Regions from separate parts of the Homo sapiens genome. Here region 2 is linked to region 1. The links are contacts of gene promoters, found by promoter capture Hi-C in blood cells and fetal thymus (Javierre and others, 2016). All regions are on one chromosome and are shown on one strand. The core of a region is centred on a gene start or on the middle of the fragment in contact, and the rest is flanking DNA. Distances in the headings are between cores, read along the strand shown. Region 1 holds the start of ELMOD1 (ELMO domain containing 1). Region 2 has its middle 21 kb from the start of SLN.

What was found. Contacts are between HindIII fragments. The CHiCAGO score rates a contact against its expected background, and 5 or more counts as called.
Region 2: a contact is called between a fragment that was not itself captured here and the fragment with the promoter of ELMOD1 in region 1, in 1 of 17 cell types (endothelial precursors). The highest score is 9.6, in endothelial precursors.

The regions. Positions count from the first base shown.
Region 1 is chr11:107,589,803-107,592,451 of GRCh38, reverse strand. It overlaps ELMOD1 (ELMO domain containing 1), which reads right to left and starts at 1,305. Exons shown (of 12, transcript NM_018712.4): 1 at 1,043-1,305. RefSeq lists an enhancer at 803-862 and silencers at 1,113-1,252, 1,313-1,422. The HindIII fragment of the contact is 4,180 bases long and covers 1-2,649 here.
Region 2 is chr11:107,689,920-107,692,568 of GRCh38, reverse strand. No RefSeq gene overlaps it. Among named protein-coding and RNA genes, the nearest start is that of SLN, 21 kb to the left of the region's middle. The HindIII fragment of the contact is 3,358 bases long and covers 1-2,649 here.

The sequences.
Region 1 (2,649 bases), core at 56-2,555:
CGGCACAAAACGTATACATTGCAGAGATGCAGAACAATGCCTGGATGCCTGCCCAAAATTGGTCTCTCCAAATGACAGACTCAATTGATAGTACCAATCTACGGCCCACTGGGGGTTAGCAGCGTATTTTCCTAGGTGGTGGGGGAAAGGGATGAAATGTGGAAAGCTCAGGGCACTGTGCAGAGCAGAAAGGCTGACAACATATTCATTAAACTTGATCTGAAGCAAGTGAGCCCGTGAGGTCGTTCCTGAAATATTCATAAGATGTGTTACCGAACTCGCCGCTTAGAGGTTGAGCATAAACACTGAGTCAGAACAGCCCGTACCCACACTTGGAAAACAAAAAAAAGCACCCACAACAGCTCACCCCACCACCACACTCCACTGCTCTGCTTTTAACAGCCCCGTCAGCTGTCAGCTGTCACTCCCCACTCGGCTGTCCAATTCTACCTGCCCGGGAAAGAGATGCTCCAATATTGAAGTGCGGAGTTTCCCAGCAGTTGGAGGAGGCGCAGCTCAACAGCCCAGCCGACCGCTCCTCCCAGCTCGCTGCGCGGAGGACCCCACAGTCCGGCGGCCCCGCAGCCCGGCTGCCTAGCTCCTCCCTGGAGACCGAAGCCCACAAGGCAAGGGGTTCCCAGGGACCCAGACCAGCCCCTCGCCCCAGCCAGGCCGCCCTTGTCCCGCCTTCCATTTTGGCTCTGTCTGGGATCCCTTCCCCGAGCCCTCGGCGTTAGGTCGCTAGGCGACCTACGCCCGGGCCGAGATGCAAACAGCCTCTCGCGCCGACCTGCAGCCTCTCGGGTGTTAATTGGGAGGACAGGATAGAAGGGGAAATCACTGTCCTGGGTGACCCCGGAGCCCCTGCACCAAGGCAGAGTGCACTTTCATTCCCGTTCCCTCTCTGCCCCCGATGCTTAGCATTTCTGCTGCCTCCCAGGCACAGCGCAGCTTGCGTGATGCCTCGCGTCCTCGCCGCACCTCTCTCCTCCCCAAGGGCATTCGCCCCTACTCCCTAGGCTCCTCTGGGGTCGCCAATCACCTGGACTCTGGCGGCGGTAGGCTCAGCAGCTCCCGGCGCGCGGCGGCGTGGTCTTCATCTCCGCCTTCCCCAGGCGCTCCGGCTACGCGCTCCGCGGCGGCGAGCGACGCGCTCGGTCCCGGGCGCCGAGGCTGGACAGGGGCGGCCGCGGCTGCCGCACTGGCTGCGGGCGCGGAAGGGGCGGGGGCGGGGCAGGAATCTGGGTCGCGTGGAGCGGAGCAAGCCGGGATGCACCCGGGGCGGCTGGCGGCGAGGAGGCGACCGAGAGCAGCGGGGGAGGGCGTGCAGAGGCTTCCCTGGGAGCACGAAGCGGGCGGCTACTGAGCATGCCCAGTCCGGGAGCCGGGGGCGCGGGCGCGGTGCTGGGGGAGAGAGCGCGGCACCCAGTGCCGGAATCTGGGGGGAAAGGGTTAAATCTGCGGACCCCGCTGCTGTGGGAGGTGGCTGGTGTGGCCCAGTTTAATTGCTCCCGGGTGGCCTCCCTGGAGGAGCCCACGACAGGAAGATGGTGAACCTGAGATGACCTGTCAATGGGATTCCCAGACAGTCCGGGCAAGGTGTGTTCCCCGCCCTCTCCCTGGATAATTGTCCAGAAGTCAAACTTTGTTTTAGTTCAGCTCCAACCTCCCTCGTCTCACCGAGCACCCAGTGACTCTTCCAATCCTGATCCCCACCCTTCACCTGCCTTCCCGGGACTGCAGAACCCTATCCCTCACCCCAACCGGCAGCCCCCGCCTTTCCCACTCCTGGCCCAGTCGGGTCAGATTCTCAAAGAGCCAGCTCTTTAATTAGGTGTAATTGAGAGATCGTGTCAATCCTGCGAGGTCCATATCTGCATTTCAACAAGGGCTTTAGAAGCAATACCGTAACCCCGGGGTTAATTATAACAGGATGAATTATAGACACCCTCGTCCGGGGCTGTTTGGGGGAACATTGCTTCGTGGGGCCCCAGAAGCCACTTCATACAGACAGAGAGAGAGAGAGAGAGAGAGAGAGAGAGAGAGAGAGAGAGAGAGAGAGAGAGAGAGAGAGAGAGAGAGAGAGAGAGAGAGAGAGAGAGAGAGAGAGAGAGAGAGAAACCTGTGCCTTCCGGATTGCATTTCATGTTTGATGAAGAACGTTTTCTCCATAGCTAATCAAAAAAGTCTCTTTAATGAGGCCGCATGGGGTTGGGGAAAGACCAAATGAGCTTCGAGGTCGGCGCTTATTTTAGTTTCATTCATCACTCCAAGCCGGTTACCTGACCGTCTTGTGCCTCTGTTTCCTCACCTGTAAAACAAAGGGTGGTTAATACCTACCTCTGCGGGCTGTTGTGAGGATTACTTGGGCAGCTGGCGGCGCGGAGCAGCCTGGATACCAAAGCATCTGCCTGTCCCGCAGTGGATGTTCCCTGAATAAAAGTCTCTGCAGGTTCCACCTCCACTATTCTGTGTTTATGAAAAGTTGGGTTAGTGATAATCCTTAAATGCTGAACATTTATCTTATTTCCTCTTCACATTAAATGACCTTAAAGCCTTGACCTTTCTGATTTTTTTAATCATTGTTAAAAGCATTAGCCACTATTTACTTTTCTTTCTTTTCAGGGAGATATGAAGGATACCTCCCTG
Region 2 (2,649 bases), core at 43-2,542, 100 kb before region 1:
TCTGCCATCTCCTTTCTGCTATTGAGCCCATTAGTGAATATTTTCATTTTATGTTTCAGTTCTAAATTTTACATTTTGTTCTTTTTTACAGCCTCTATTTCTTTGCTGAGAACTCCTTTCTTTATTCATTTCAAGCATATTGCTTTTACTTCATGGAGCATAATTAGAATGGATGCTTTAAAGTTTTTGTCTGATAATTTTAACTTCTGGTCATCTCTGAGCTAACTGTTGATTCTCTTTTCTATTGAGAATTGTTAAGAATGTCCTTATTCTTTATATGTCAAGGAATTTTGAATGGTTTCCTAGACATTTTGAATATTATGTTATGAGACTCTGGGTTCTGTTAAGATCCTCTGGATAATTTGATCTTTAGTTTTAGCAGGTAACCAGTCTTTGTAGTTTAAGATTACAAATCCCAATCTACCTTCTCTGTTCTATGGTTCCAAAGTCAGTTTTGTTTTGAAAACCTTTGCAGTGCTATTTTGGTTCACTTTATTTATGTCCCACCCAAAGGCTAGTTTGGCACATGGGCAGTGGTCTACACTATGGTTTGGTTCTCAAAACCTTTGCGGTGCTGCTTCATATCAATTCCCCCTACAATTAGCTCAGAAGTGACTTCACACAAAGATTTAAGGAATCCATTTCCCCAGCTCTCTCTTCTCCATGACTTCCCCAAAACTTTCTAGTTCTTAAGGGCTTCTTTTCATGGTCTTCCGGCTAAAAAGCTGGGGTTTCAGCCTCTCCATGTTGTTGTGTACTTCTCAAAATGGGGTCTGCCTCAGGAGCAGAATGCAGAGAGAAAAAAGAAAGAAAACGATTAATAGAGATTCCCCCAACATTCTTCAGATCACAGGGACATCTTTTTCCAGTTCCTCTGGTAATAAAAAAGGATTTTCTCTGAGTTTGAGGTGCTTGCAAGCCTACCACTGCTGCTGCTGTTGCAAAAGTGCAGCTTCATGACTTGCCACAGGGCAGGGCCAGGAGATTACTAAAAGAAAGAAAATGAGGATTCCCTTCACATTCACAATCCTACAGGACCCCCACACTTTGTCCACTGACTAGATAAAGAGGATTTGTCTTAGTCCTTTTCTGCTTGCCTTTGCTGTGTAGTTCCAGGATTTGGGCTGCCATAGAGTGTAAGTTAGGATATATGGGTGGGAAAAAAACAAAAACAAAAGAAACAAGAAACTCACTGTTGTAATGGCTGTCCTATGAGTTTTGAGAAAGATATAGAGTGGAACAATTTTACTCATTTTAACTAACATCAGAAGTCTCTGACATCCAGCCATGAATCATCTAAATCCCTGAGTCGATAATGGTGATACAAGATTGCTAGTGCCACAGCAGCCTGCCAAAGCAAACGAAAACTCCCTTAGGAGAAAGATAGCATAATCCTAGGCATCAACTTATCTTTACTATTTTTCATAGACAATGTCTGGTACTCAATAAAAAAGAACCAGGCATAGTGCCAGTGTCTATGGAGCGCTGTAATTTAAGTTATTCAGAGCAACTTTCTTTGAACATGTTTTCTTTAAAGTAAAAATAGAAACCTCTTTACAGAAAGGAAAAGTCATCATCCCACTTACATATCCCTTCTCACCACGGTGCACAACAGTGTCTGCTAATATATAAATTAGATGTGTTCTTTCCAGGCAAATATATTATTTTAAGTAATTTGTCACAAGATGAATTGCAATTTTTAAAATCTCTCCTGTTTAAATATTTTCTTTATAGTAACATGATTAAGTCATCATGGCATATGATCTGGCGTTTACTTTGTGAGTTGAGATATATTCGGACGTCGTCAGCTAGAATCTCAAGTGATGGATATGTCCCCCGTATGTAGTTGCTTCTTCTCTCTCTTCTCAACAGGATTCCAAACGTGGCAGGGAACAGAGTCAGATGATCTATCTTTTCATCTATTCCACCATCTCTTTATTTTATTATTACTTTATTTCTTCTGAAGGGTTTATTTGTGACCTAAATAAGAAACAGAATCTAAGCCAAAACATTTTGTTCCTTCAAATAACAAATAACATGCCTGTAATCGCAGTACTTTTGGAGGCCAAGGTGGGAGAATCACTTGAGGCCAGGAGTTTGAAGCCAGCCTGTCACACAGGCTGGAGTGCAGTGGTGCGATCTTGGCTCACTGCAACCTCCGCCTCCCCAGTTCAAGCGATTCTCCTGCTTCAGCCTCTTGAGCAGCTGAGACTACAGGTGAGTGCCACCATGTGCGGCTAATTTTTGTATTTTTTTTTAGTAGAGACGGGGTTTCACTATATTGGCCAGGCTGGTCTCGAACTCCTGACCTCGCGATCCACCCACCTCGGCCTCCCAAATTGCTGGCATTACAGGTGTAAGCCACCGCGCCTGGCCTCTAAAAATTTTTTTAAAAAATTAACTGGATGTGTGGTGGCATGCACCTGTAGTACCAGCGACTCAAAAATCTGAGGCAAGAGGATCACCTGAGCCCAGCAGTTCAAAGCTACAGTGAATTATGATTGGGTCACTGCACTCCAGCCTGGGCGACAGCAAGACCCTGAAAAAAGAAAAGAAAAGAAAAAAAGAAAAGAAAGAACACAAAGACAAGAAAAACCCCATAAATAACATAGGTGGTTTCAGCGATAAAATAAACTGACCCCAGGTGTA